5 separate regions of the Homo sapiens genome follow, and all the other regions are linked to region 2. The links are contacts of gene promoters, found by promoter capture Hi-C in human tissues and cell types (Jung and others, 2019). All regions are on one chromosome and are shown on one strand. The core of a region is centred on a gene start or on the middle of the fragment in contact, and the rest is flanking DNA. Distances in the headings are between cores, read along the strand shown.

The links. Contacts are between HindIII fragments. The study calls those that stand out against the background at their distance.
Region 1: a contact is called between a fragment that was not itself captured here and the fragment with the promoter of ELP6 in region 2, in 3 of the 25 tissues and cell types used here (H1 embryonic stem cells, hippocampus and mesendoderm cells).
Region 3: a contact is called between a fragment that was not itself captured here and the fragment with the promoter of ELP6 in region 2, in 1 of the 25 tissues and cell types used here (IMR-90 fibroblasts).
Region 4: a fragment that was not itself captured here is called in contact with the fragment with the promoter of ELP6 in region 2 in 3 of the 25 tissues and cell types used here (bladder, hippocampus and spleen).
Region 5: a fragment that was not itself captured here is called in contact with the fragment with the promoter of ELP6 in region 2 in 1 of the 25 tissues and cell types used here (adrenal gland).

The regions. Positions count from the first base shown.
Region 1 is chr3:47,745,053-47,747,752 of GRCh38, reverse strand. SMARCC1 (SWI/SNF related BAF chromatin remodeling complex subunit C1) reads left to right here. Exons shown (of 28, transcript NM_003074.4): 3 at 1,760-1,845. Among named protein-coding and RNA genes, the nearest start is that of SMARCC1, 35 kb to the left of the region's middle. The HindIII fragment of the contact is 9,491 bases long and covers 1-2,700 here.
Region 2 is chr3:47,512,446-47,515,145 of GRCh38, reverse strand. ELP6 (elongator acetyltransferase complex subunit 6) reads left to right here and starts at 1,434. Exons shown (of 7, transcript NM_001031703.3): 1 at 1,434-1,609. The coding sequence starts at 1,556. RefSeq lists enhancers at 1,470-1,579, 1,910-2,019. The HindIII fragment of the contact is 13,702 bases long and covers 1-2,700 here.
Region 3 is chr3:47,665,455-47,668,154 of GRCh38, reverse strand. The region is part of intron 19 of SMARCC1 (SWI/SNF related BAF chromatin remodeling complex subunit C1); the gene reads left to right. Among named protein-coding and RNA genes, the nearest start is that of HIGD2AP2, 4.1 kb to the right of the region's middle. The HindIII fragment of the contact is 6,014 bases long and covers 1-2,700 here.
Region 4 is chr3:47,695,060-47,697,835 of GRCh38, reverse strand. All of the region lies in intron 11 of SMARCC1 (SWI/SNF related BAF chromatin remodeling complex subunit C1), which reads left to right. Among named protein-coding and RNA genes, the nearest start is that of HIGD2AP2, 34 kb to the right of the region's middle. The HindIII fragment of the contact is 4,536 bases long and covers 1-2,776 here.
Region 5 is chr3:47,726,479-47,729,178 of GRCh38, reverse strand. SMARCC1 (SWI/SNF related BAF chromatin remodeling complex subunit C1) reads left to right here. Exons shown (of 28, transcript NM_003074.4): 6 at 85-154. Among named protein-coding and RNA genes, the nearest start is that of SMARCC1, 54 kb to the left of the region's middle. The HindIII fragment of the contact is 5,354 bases long and covers 1-2,700 here.

The sequences.
Region 1 (2,700 bases), core at 138-2,637, 230 kb before region 2:
TCCTGGCTTCAAGCAGTCCTCCCTTCCTCCCTGCCTTCTTTCTCAACCAGAGTACTGGGGTTACAGGCATTTTCTTTGGAACCATTTTGATTTATCTTTTTTATAAAAAAATTTGTTTTTTGAGATAAGGTCACACTCTGTCACCCAGGCTGGATTTGTCACCATCACAGTTCACTACAGCTTGACTTCCCATGCTCATGCAATCCTCCTACCTCAGCCTCCTGAGTAGGTGGGACTACAGGCGTGTGCCACCATGCCTGGCTAATTTTTATATTTATATTTATATTTATATTTATATTTATATTTATATTTTTTTGAGACAAATTCTGGTTTTATTGCCCAGGCTAGAGTATAGTGGCATGGTCTCAGCTCACTGCAACCTTTGCCTCCTAGGTTCAAGCCATCCTCCTACCTCAGCCTCCCAGTAGCTGGGGCTACAGGCACACTCCCCCCATGCCTGGCTAATTTCTTTTGCATTTTTTGTTGAGACGGGGTTTCACCATGTTGCCCAGGCTGGTCTTGAACTCCTGTGCTCAAGCCATCTGCCCGCTTCGGCCTGCCAAATGCTGGGATTACAGGTGTGAGCCACTCCTGCACCTGGCCTAATTTTTAAATTTTTTGTAGAGGTAGGATCTCACTGTGTTGCCCAAGCTGGTCTCAGACTCCTGGCCTCAAGTGATTCTTTCACCTTGGTGTCTCAAAATGTTAGAATTACTGGTGTGTAGCCAGGCACGATGGCTCATGCCTGTAATCACAGCACTTTGGGAGGTTGAGGCGGGCAGATCACCTGAGGTTGGGAGTTCGAGACCAGCCTGGCCAACATAGAGAAACCCTGTCTCTACTAAAAATGCAAAATTAGCCGGGCGTGGTCATGCATGCCTATAATCCCAGCTACTTAGGAGGCTGAGGCAGGAGAATCACTTGAACCTGGGAGGCGTAGGTTGCAGTGAGCCGAGATAGCACCATTGCACTCCAGCCTGGGCAACAAAAGCAAAATTCTATCTCAAAAAAAAAAAAAAAAAAAAATTACTGATGTGAGCCACTGCTCCTGGCCTATATTTAGCTTTTTAAAATCTTTCTTTTGACAGACTAATTACTCAAATTATAATATGTTTATGGAATTTAAAAGGAATTCTTTTGGGGAGGGGTATGGGGTCTTGCTATATTGTCCAGGCTGGTTTTGAATTTCTGTGCTCAAGTGATTCTTTCATCTCAGCCTCCCAAGTAGCTGCGACTATAGGTGTGAGCCACTGTACTGGCTACAAGAAAGTAGTTTCACTTCAGTTTATTTCATTTGATTTTTCTTGAGACAGCATCTCACTCTGTCATCCAGGGCTGGAGTGCAGTAGGGCGATCAGGGCTCACCGCAGGCTCAACCTCTCAGGCTGAAGTGATCCTCCCACCCCAGCCTCCTGGATAGGATTGCAGGTGTGTGCCACAATGCACAGCTAATTTTTAAATTTTTTTCTAGAGACTGGATCTCCCTGTGTTGCCCAGACTGGTCTTGAACTCCTGGGCTTAAGTGATCCTCCTGTTTCACGCTCCCAGAGTGTTGGGATTACAGGCATGAGCCACCATGCCCAGCCTAATCTACTTTTAGAAAAATGTATTGATTCCTCAGTTTATTCAAGAAGATGTTTAAGGAGGTTGTTTAATTAGTATTTGTTTATATATTTGAATTTATAAAACTTAGAATTAAGACATGAGTAATTTTGTCAGAAGCTTTATTTTTCTCATGTGTAATTTGTATCATTTTTAGGCAAAGTGTTTCATGGATTTCAAAGCTGGAGGCGCCTTATGTCACATTCTTGGGGCTGCTTACAAGTATAAAAATGAACAGGGATGGTAAGTTTTTGTATTTGTTTGCATGTTTTGATCTTAAGTTATTTACTTTTAAGTCCTGTTTCCTTGTGTTAGAAAATCCTGTAAGCACATGATGATTAATGTGTTTTACCAAGAGCCCTAATTTACCTTGTTTCTACATCCAAGAAAAATATCAAGCAACCACGTATTTATTTATTTTTGAGACAGGGTCTTAAAAATAGGACCAACCAAGGCTGTTGGCAAGGCTAGAAGTGCAGTGGTGGAATCTCAGGTCACTGCATCCCGCGCATCAGATTCAAGCAATTCTCATGCCCCAGCCTCCTGAGTAGCTGGGACTGTAGGCGTGCACCACCATGCCTGGCTAATTTTTCTATTTTTAGTAGAAATAGGGTTTTGTCATGTTGGTCAGGCTGCTCTCAAACTCCTGGCCTCAAGCACTCCACCCATCTCAGCCTCCCAAAGTGCTGGGATTACAGGCGTGAGCCACCGCACCCGGCCACAACCAAGTATTTATTAGGGAAGTGATTTCTTATATTTGATTTTTATAGTAACAGGTGTACATTGTTAGCAAATTAGAAGGTAGGCTTGCCATGAAATGTGTGTGTATAATGAACTCATACATTATATTTGAAGTGGATAGATAGTATTTTTGTTTGTTTGTTTTGTTTTTTTGAGACTTAGTTGCGCTTTTTCGCCCAGGCTGGAGTGAAGTGGCACCATCTCAGCTCACTGCAACCTTCCAGTGATTCTCCTGCCTCAGCCTCCTGAGTAACTGGGATTACAGGCACCTGCCACCACATGCCCAGCTAATTTTTGCATTTTTAGTAGAGATGGGGTTTCACCATGTTGGCCAGGCTGGTCTCGAACTCCTGACCT
Region 2 (2,700 bases), core at 185-2,684:
TTAGTGACTGTCAATAAACTTGACTTTGGTGGAATTACAGGTTTGTCCACTGATCTGAGGCTGATTGGGCTAGAACAAAACTATATACGGTATAATAGATATAAATGTTATGGAAAAAAATAAAAGCAAGGAAAAAGAAGTGTTGGGAAAGGGACAGTTTGTGATTTAAGTAAGGTGCTCAGGGAAGGCCTCACGAATAAAGTGACATCGGAGCAGAGACCTGAAGGAAGTGGGGAATTTTAAAATCAGCTTAATATCTGGGAAAAGGGGCATTCCAGGAAGAGGGAAGAGTTAGTATAAAGGCTCTGAGGACAGGCATACAGGGCGTGTTGCAACCACACTGTTTTTTAACGAAGTCTCACACTGCTGCCCAGGCTAGAGAGCAATGGCGTGATCTCGGCTTACTGCAACCTCTGCCTCCCAGGTTCAAGCGATTCTACTGGCTCAGCCTCCCGAGTGGCTGGGATGACAGGCGCCCCCCACCACGCCAGGCTAATTTTTTGTATTTTTAATAGAGAAGGGGGTTTCACTATATTGGCCAGGCTAGTCTCGAACTCCTGACCTCGTGATCCCTCCGTCTAGGCCTCCCAAAGTGCTGGCATTACAGGTGTGAGCCACCGCGCCCAGCCGCAACCACACTTTCTTAGTGAGACCCACCCTGACAACCTCTTTAATTCTGGAACCTACCCCTGCCCCCATTGGTACTCTCTAATCCCACTTTGCTTTTCTCCACACAACTTTTCAAGATATAATTCCGTGTCGGCCGGGCGTGGTGGCTCATGCCTGTAATCCCAGCACTTTGGGAGGCCGAGGCCGGCGGATCACGAGGTCGGGAGATCAAGACCATCCTGGCTAACACGGTGAAACCCCGTCTCTACTAAAAATACAAAAAATTAGCCGGGCGTGGTGGCGGGCGCCTGTAGTCCCAGCTACACTCGGGAGGCTGAGGCAGGAGAATGGCGTGAACCCAGGAGGCGGAGACTGTAGTGAGCCGAGATCGCGCCACTGCACTCCAGCCTGGGCGACAGGGCAAGACTCCGTCTCAATTAAATAATAATAATAATAATAATAATAATAATAATAATAATAAATTCCCTGTCCTTTGTTTTTGTTCATCGATGTAGCCCAAGCTCCCAGGAGTGTGGGGCATACAGAAGGCGCTTGACAGCCACGTGTGGAGAAAAGGAGCCCGGGGCTGGGCAGAGAGCGAGGCCAAGGGAAGAAGAATACTCGGTCGCGTGGAGCCTTGGGGGCCCACTGGGAGGGCTCGGGCGCCACGCAGATCTGCGCGGAATGAGCCGCCAGAGGCCGCTGGCAGTCGCACAGAGAAGCCCATCGTTTCCTACCACCTGGGACTCGACGGACGTCTACGCGCGTGCGCAGCGGTCCCATCGAGGCACCCGCCTCATTGGCTGTGGCTGGCTCGCAAAAGTGGCATTGCGCATGCGCGCTTCCTTGCGCGAGCCGGGCTGTCGGGTGTGTTTTGCTCTCCAGCCTCCGTCGTCTCTGCAGCACTCCGGGTTCTCCTCCAGAGCGCTAGTCCCAGGAGCTCGGAATGTTCGTGGAACTTAATAACCTGCTTAACACCACCCCCGACAGGGCGGAGCAGGTAAGAGGTCCCGCTGGCCGGAAGGGGGCGGGACCTGGCAGGGCAGCGGAATACTGCATCCGGGAGGCGGTGCGCACGACCCCGGGGAATGGCGCGACGACCCGGCACGGGGTACCTGGGAGTTGTAGTCCGCAGAGGATCGACCCGGGGATTGGACTGGAGGCTTGGGCCCGCCGAAAGTGGGCTTCTGGGCCATCTCGCATATTCTCAACGGCTGTGCGTGTCCTTAAAAGTCCCTGGGAAGCGGCCGGGCGCGGTGGCTCACCCCTGTAATCCCAGCAGTTTGGGAGGCCGAGGCGGGTGCATCATCTAAGGTCAAGAGTTCGAGACAAGTCTGGCCAAGATGGTGAAACCCCCGTCTCTACGAAAAATACAAAAATTAGCCGGGCGTGGTGGCTCATGCCTGTAATCTCAGCTACTCGGGAGGCTGAGACAGGAGAATTGCTTGAACCCGGGAGGCGGAGGTTGCAGTGACCCGAGATCTCGCCACCGCACTCCAGCCTGGGCGACAGAGCGGGACTCCACCTCAAAAAAAAAAAAAAAAAGTACCTGGGAAGCATGGCCGACAGTGGGGTTGGGTTATATTCGCGGACGTGAACTGTGGCGCGCTGTGCATGTTCACTGGGGTGGGGGGTCCCAGGCGCTCAGAGGAGACTGCAGAATAGGCCCGAGAGGAGAGGGGAGTTCGTTTCGCCGCCGTCTTCATGGGCGAGCTTCCTAACCGCCACCTCGCCCCGGAGCAATTGGCACATTGTATTGAACGCTGCTGTTCTTCTTACTCTTCCTCCTTGTGATCTCTAATAGAACTGTTAGAAGCAGGACAGAGCCAAATTGGCTTGGACCAAGTCCGTCTTGGGCACCCCAGGCTGGCCTGTTCTCTCCACCCTCCTCACACTCCGGGGTACCTTGAAACCTTTCACATTTTAACGTAGGAGTAACCTCTTTCAGGAGTGTATCTTTTGGCTTATTTATTTATTTATTTATTTTTGATGGAGTCTCGCTCCCTCGCCTGGGCTGGAGTGCACTGGCGCGATCTCGGCTCCCTGCAACCTCACCTCCCGGGTTCAAGTGATTCTCCTTATTCAGCCTCC
Region 3 (2,700 bases), core at 66-2,565, 150 kb before region 2:
TCTGTTGATATAATCAGGGCACCAGAATGAAAGAGAGATAATGGAGCCACTCTATTCCACAGTGACTAAAGAATTTTTTTTCAAGTTAATATATATGTACATGCGTATCTATATATATATGCACATATTTATTTATTTAATATAGAGGCAGGGTTTTGCTATGCTGTCCATGCTGGTCTTGAACTCCTGGTCTCTAGTGATCCTCCTGCCTCAGCCTCCCAGAGTACTTAGATTACAGACGTGAGCCACTGTACTGGGTTCACAGTTTCTTTTTTCTTTGAGAAGGAATCTCACTCTGTCACCAGGCTGGAGTGCAGTGACATGATCTCAGCTCACTGCAACCTCTGCCTCCTGGGTTCACGCAGTTCTTCTGCCTCAGCCTCCCGAGTAGTTGGGACTACAGGCACGCGCCACCATGCCCAGCTAATTTTTGTATTTTCAGAAGACACGGGGTTTCACCATGTTGGCCAGGATGGTCTCGATCTCTTGACCTCGTGATCTGCCCGCCTCAACCTCCCAGAGTGCTGGGATTACAGGCACAAGCCACCGCGCTTGGCCTTCACAATTTCTTTTAAGTCCACAACTGATTGCAGTATTCTTCCTGTTCATTTATAATTATTCTTGGGCTTGAAAGTGACAAGACTTGAATTTGTGAGCTCACTGATTCTCCCGTGATAGCTCTAGTGTTTGTCATGTATGCTTTGCTTTCTCATGCTATTTATTTTCCCTTAGATAATTAATAGACATAAAGGCTATGCCTGCAAAGAAAACTTGTAATTTATTAACATTTATTTATCACTGTAAGAGTTTCTCTCTCTCTCTTTTTTTTTTTTTTTTGAGACGGAGTCTCGCTCTGTCGCCCAGGCTGGAGTGCAGTGGCGTGATCTCGGCTCACTGCAAGCTCCGCCTCCCGGGTTCACACTATTCTCCTGCCTCGGCCTCCCAAGTAGCTGGGACTACAGGTGCCTGCCACCATGCCCGGCTAATTTTTTTGTGTTTTTAGTAGAGACGAGGTTTCACCATGTTAGCCAGGATGGTCTCGATCTCCTGACCTCGTGATCGGCCCACCTCAGCATCCCAAAGTGCTGGGATTACAGGCGTGAGCCACCGTGCCTGGCCCGAGTTTCTCTCATTTTTTATGCCAGCTAAATAATAGGAAACATAGCATTAGAAGATATTCAGTAACCAACATGAAAGATTTCCTCACAGTGTGCATACACTTTACATACTTTTTCTTGATGCAAAACCCAGGAAATATATCATTCTATGTACTTTTGAACTACACTAAGATGCATAGTAAATCTTCTATTAAAAAACTTTTCTTAAGGACAGAGATGTCCAATCTTTGGCTTCCCTGGGCCACATTGGGCCACACATAAAATACACTAACACTAACAATAGCTGATGAGCTTAAAAAAAAATCCCCCCAAAAAATCATAGTGTTTTAAGAAAGTTTATGAATTTGTATGGGCCACATTCAGCGCCATCCTGGGCCACATGTAGGCTGCAGGCCACAGGTTGGACAAGCTTGGTTTAGCTAAGAGAACCTTTTTTTTTTTTTTTTTTAATTAGGAAAACAGTCTGCCTTTTTACATTTGAGAGCCATAGCAAAGTCAGATTTATTTCTTGGTTTAGTTCAGTTTCCTGTGGTTTGAGTTCAGTAAACTTTATTAGGTATTGTGTTTTGGACACTGACAGACACTGCAGGTAGAGATCTGTAGAACACAATCTGTACCTTTAAGGAATTCATAGTCTGCTTAAGTGACAGAGAAAGATAAAACACAAAGCTTGAATGCGGAATTCCCAGCTTTATGATTAGAGGTATGTCCAGAGCACAAGAGCTGTACAGAGGAGTTGCTTTGCAAACAAGCCAGGTAGATAAGACATAATGAACAGGCTTCTGGGAATGGTATAGCTGTGTTGGTCCTAAAACATGATGTTTCCAGTGCAGAACAAATGGTTCATAGGCACAATACCTAGTAGGAATAGATCAGTGGGGCCTGTGTATTGTTGAAACGTGAAGAGTAGGGAATAGGGCGGGAGAAGTAGGCAGTGTCCTGATCATGTTTGGCTTAATTTCATAAGATAATGACACATAATAAAATAGTTTTAGGCAGGAGAGAAAGAGTGTTTTATGTAAAACATATTTCACCCTAGCAGCGTGGAGAAGGATGAAATTACTATAGAAAGGTAATTATAATAATCGATCTATGAGGCTGAGATGGAAGGATTGCTTGAGGCCAGGAATTGGACAGCAGCTTGGGCAACATAGCAAGACCGTGTCTCACAAAAAAAAAAAAAAGAGAGTGAGTGAGTGTATCCAGGTTAAGTAATGATGAAGACCTGAACCTGGGTTATGGCAGGATGAATGAAGCTGTTTTGTAGCATTATAAGATACTTACTAAAAACTTTCATTGAATCATCCTCCTTCCTGGCCAGTGTGTCACCGCATTATTCTCTTTTCAAAACATCACTTTAATTTGCCTCTCTTATTAGCATTATTATCAGTTCCTAGGCTCAGACATTTACAGATTCTCAACTCTGTGCTCTTCTGGATGCTGAGTCTTGCTTGGATTTTGTATCTCAGAAGTTTCCCCAACTCCACCTTTATTCTGGAAAAAAACTTGATGAACTTTCTTATTGTTCCCTGGCGAAAGGAACATGAAAAAATATTTTTTAATTAAAAATTTCATTGGAAAA
Region 4 (2,776 bases), core at 163-2,662, 180 kb before region 2:
CGGGGTTTCACCATGTTAGCCAGGATGGTCTCGATCTCCTGACCTCATGATCCGCCCGCCTTGGCCTCCCAAAGTGCTGGGATTACAGGCGTGAGCCACTGTGCCCGTCCAGATATTGATCTTTAACTTTCTGTTCTTAGCATTTTCTCATCAGGTTTTGCTGTCATGGTTATGCTGGCCTCATAAAATGAGTTTGGAATTTTTTTTTTTTTTTCCCTTAAGAGTCAGGGTCAAGGCCAGGTGCAGTGGCTCACACCTGTAATCCCAGCATTTGGGTAGGCTGAGGCGGGAGGATCACTTGAGGCCAGGAGTTCAAGACTAGCCTGGCCAACAAGTTGAAACCAGAGCTCTACTAAAAATACAAAAATTAGCCTGGCGTGGTGGCGCATACCTGTAGTCCCAGGCTACTCGGGAGGCTGAGGCAAGAGAATCGCTTGAACCCGGGAGGCGGAGGTTGCAGTGAGCCACGATCACGCCAGGGCACTCCAGCCTGGGCGACAGAGCCAGACTCCATCTAAAAAAAAAAAAAAAAAGTCAGGATCTCTCGCTCTTTCGCCCAGGCTGGAGTGCATTGGCAGTCACGTCTTGCTGCTCACTCAAGTGATACTCCCACCTCAGCCTCTCGTTTCAGCTGGGATACAGGTGCTCACCACCACATTTGCTTAATTTTTATTCATTGTAGAGACACGGTCTTGCCATACCGCCCAAGCTGGTCTCAAACTCCTGAGCTCAAGCAATCTACCCTCCTCAGCCTCCCAAATTGCAAGCTACCATGTCTGGCTTATTTTGTAGTTAATTCCTAATTAAAATCTATGGCAGAGCTGGACATGGTGGCCTTTCCCTGTAGTCCTAGCTATTCAGTGAGAGGATTGCTGGAAACCAAGGACATTGAGGCTTCAGTGAGCCATGATTGCATCACTGCACTGCAGCCTGGGCTAAGGAGTGAGACCCCGATTCAAAAAAACCCAAAATCATTCACTGAAAATCTAGTCTTTCGAAATTTATTCACACTTGGCTGGGCGCGGTGGCTCATGCCTGTAATCCCACCACTTTGGGAGGTCAAGGCGGGTGGATCACCTGAGGTCAAGAGTTCAAGACCAGCCTGGACAACATGGAGAAACCCTGTCTCTACTAAAAATACAAAAAAAAATTAGCCGGGTGTGGTGGTGGGTGCCTGTAATCCCAGCTACTCAGGAGGCTGAGGCAGGAGAATCACTTGAACTCGGGAGGCAGAGGTTGCAGTGAGCCGAGATTGCACCGTTGCATTCCAGCCTGGGCGATGAGTGAAGCTCTGTTTCAAAAAAAAAAAAAAATTATTCACACTTGTTTTATTTCACAGCATATAGTCTACTTTGGTGAACCTTTGCTTATACTACTTGAAAAGGACATATGTTGTGCCGTTTTTGAGTCTAGTGTTGTATAAATTTGTTTGTGTTTTGTTTTTTTGTTTTGTTTTGTTTCTGAGACAGAGTCTCGCTCTGTTGCCGAGGTTGGAGTGCAGTGGTGCAATCTCAGCTCACTGCAACCTCAGCCCCCAGGATTCTAGTGATTGTCCTGCCTCAGCCTCCTGAGTAGCTGAGATTATAGGCGCCCGCCACCACGCCTGGCTAATTTTTTTTGTATTTTTAGTAGAGATGGGGTTTTGCCATATTGGCCAGGCTGGTCCCGAACTTCTGATCTCAGGTGATCCACCCGCCTTGGCCTCCCAAAGTGCTAGGATTACAGGCATGAGCCACCTCGCCTGGCCCCCCCCCCCCCTTTTTTTTTTTGAGACAGCGTCTTGCTCAGTCACCCAGGCTGGAGTGCCGTGGCATAATCTCGGCTCACTGCAACCTCCGCCTCTTGAGTTCAAGTGATTCTCATGCCTCAGCCTCCCGAGTAGCTGGGATTACAGGCATGCACCACCACGCCCGGCTGATTTTTTTTGTATTTTTAGTAGAGACGGGGTTTCACCTTGGCCAGGCAGGTCTTGAACTCCTGACCTCAGGTGATCTGCCCACCTCAGCTGCCTAAAGTGCTGGGATTACAGGCGTGAGCCACACTGCGTCCAACTTTTTTTTTTTTTTTTTTTTTGAGACAGAATCTTGCTCTGTTGCCCAGGCTGGAGTGCATTGGCATGATCTCTGCTCACTGCAACCTCCGCCGGGTTCGTGTGATTCTTCTGCTTCAGCCTCCCTAGTAGCTGGGATTACAGGTGCCTTCCACCATGCCCTACTAATTTTTGTATTTTTAGTAGAGACAGGGTTTCACCACGTTGGCCAGGCTGGTCTTGAACTCCTGACCTTAGGTGATCTGCCTGCCTTGTCCTTCCAAAGTTCTGCGATTACAAGCATGAGCCACCGCGCCCGGATGACAAAGTAACTTTTATTCAACCACTACAGGGACAGATGCTGAGGGTGAAGTAGAAAACAGGCATTCAGTTTTCCAGTGTATGATTTTATGCATAATATAGCATTGTTTTAATTGAGATATACTTCACATAACATTAAATTAATTATTGTAAAGTACATACTTGCATTGTCACCCAGACTGGAATAACAGCTATGCGATCATAACTCACTGCAGACTTCACCTCCTAGGCTCAAGCGTTTCTTGTGCCTCAGCATCCCTGGTAGCTAGGACTTACAGGCATGAGCCACTACACCCAGTTATAAGGGCATTAATCCTGTTCTTGAGGGGCCTATCCTCCTGACTTAATTATTTTCCAAAGGCCTTACTTCTAAATACCAGGACACTACAGTTGGGTTTCAACATACGAATTTTGTGAGCACACATT
Region 5 (2,700 bases), core at 95-2,594, 210 kb before region 2:
AATTTGTATGGAATTTGTATCTGGAATCTCATAGTTCATTGCCATGTGCTTTATTTTTGTGGTTTTTGTTCATTTGCTTTCCAGGGAACATTTACGGATGAGAAGTCAAAAGCTTCCCACCACATTTACCCATATTCTTCCTCACAAGACGATGGTAAGTTAGTTTTGCGTTGTGAACAGATGAGCTCATACATCATACCAAATGGATTTTATGTCATACCCCCAAAGACTTAAACAGAATAACCAGCTTTTTATTTGTTTTTGTTTTGTTTTGAAGATGGAGTCTGTCGCCCAGGCTGGAGTGCAGTGGCGCGATCTCAGCTCACTGCCACCTCCACCTCCCGGGTTCAAGAGATTCTCCTGACTCAGCCTCCTGAGTAGCTGGGAATATAGGCGCCCACCACCATGCCCAGCTGTAATATTTGTATTTTTAGTAGAGACAAGAATTTCACCATGTTGGCCAGGATGGTGGTTTCAATCTCTTCACCTCGTGATCTGCCCACCTTGGCCTCCCAAAGTGCTGGGTTTACAGGTGTGAGCCACTGCGCCCAGCCAACATTAACTTTTAAAAGATGTAGTAGAAGCTGTGCCTAGAGGAACATTTATTTCTTTATATTAGGAAAGGAGAAAGGTTAGAAATCAGTGGTCCAAACATCTTTCTCAAGAAATTAGAAAAACAACACCAAATTAAACCTAACGAAAAAGGAAATAATAAAAGCAAAAATTAATGATGTAGAAAGTACACATTAGTGAGATATTCAGCAATGTCAGGTGGTTCTTAGACTAATGAGGGCTGGACCTGGTGTCTCACGCCTGTAATCCCAGCAGTTTGGGAGTCCGAGGTGGGTGGATCACTTGAGGTCAGGAGTTTGAGATCAGCCTGACCAAAATGGTGAAACCCCATCTCTACTAAAAATACCAAAAATTAGCCGGCTGTGCTGGCACCCATTTGTAACCCCAGCTACTTGGGAGGCTGAGGCAGGAGAATCGCTTGAACCTGGGATATGGAGGTTGCAGTGAGTCAAGATCTTGCCACTGCACTCCAGCCTGGGTGACAGAAGGAGACTCCATCTCAAAAAAAAAAAAAAAAAAAAAAAAAAGGGACTAATAAGGTGGTTAAATCCGGGTGTGGTGATACGTGCCTGTATTCCAGCTCCTCTGGAGGCTGAGGTGGGAGGATCACTTGAGGTCAGGAGTTTGAGACTGTGGCATGTGATAATTGTGCCTTTGCGTAGCCATTGCACTCCAACCTGGGCAACATAGTGAAATCTCATGTCTTAAAAAACAAGGCCTGGCGCTGTGGCTCAGGCCTGTAATCCCAGCACTCTGGGAGGCCAAGGCGGGTGGATCACCTGAGGTCAGGAGTTTGAGACCAGCCTCACCAATATGGCGAAATTTAACCAAGAGTGGTGGCAGGTGTCTGTAATCCTAGCTACTCGGGAGGCTGAGGCAGGAGAATCGCTTGAACCTGGGAGGTGGAGGTTGCAGTGAGCTGAGATTGCACCACTGCGCTCTAGCCCGGGCAAGAAGAGCAAAACTCTGTCTTACCTAAAAAAAAAAACAAAAAACAACCTATTGGTAAAAGAGGAAAATGGCCAAAACCCAGGTTAAAATAATTAGGTGAATGGATAAACAAATTGTGGTATGTACACACAGTACAATTTTTTTTTTGAGATGTAGTCTTTGTTCTGTCACCCAGGCTAGAGTGTAGTCATGTGATCTCGGCTCACTGCAACCTCCGCCTCCTGGGTTCAAGTGATTCTCCTGCCTCAGCCTCCTAAGTAGCTGGGATTACAGGTGCCCACCATCATGCCCAGCTAATTTTTGTATTTTTAGTAGAGATGGGGTTTCACCGTCTTGGCCAGGTTGGTCTCGAACTCCTGACCTCATGATCCACCTGCCTCGGCCTCCCAAAGTGCTGGGATTATAGGCGTTAGCCACCGTGCCCGGCCAGTTTTTTTGTTTTAAGGTGGAGTCTTGCTGTGTCACCCAGAATGGAGTGTAGTGGCGTCATCTTGGCGCACTGCAGCCTCCGCCTCCTGGGTTCAAGCGATTCTCCTGCCTCAGCCTCCCGAGTAGCTGGGACTACAGGAGTGCACCACCACACCCAGCTAATTTTTTTTGTATTTTTAGCAGAGACAGGGTTTCACCATGTTGGACAGGCTTGTCTCAAACTCCTGACCTCAAGTGATCCAAACGCCTCAGCCTCCCAAAGTGCTGGTATTAGAGGCGTGAGTCACCACTCCTGGTCCCACACAGTGGAATATTATTCAGCCTTGAAAAAAAAAGGAAATTTTAACACATGCTAATAACATGGAGAAATACCATATGATTCCAATTTTATGAAGTACCCAAAGTAGTGAAATTCATTGATACTGAATATAACATGGTTGTTATCAGAGACTAAGAATTTGACCACCTTAGATGAAATCATACAGAATTTGTGTTTTTATGATTAATTTGTTTTGCTTAGTGTAATGTCTTCAAAGTTTATTCATGTTACAGCATGTGCTAGAATTTCCTTTTTAAGCCTGGCTAATGCTCCATCAGGGAGTTGCTGTTCATTGGGTGTAGGGTTTTAGTTTCATAATGTACAGAGAGATCTGGAGATTGGACATGCAACACTGGGTGTACCTAACAGTACTAAACTGCTTACTTATAAAATGGTTAAAATGGTAAATTTTATGTTTACCGTCTTAA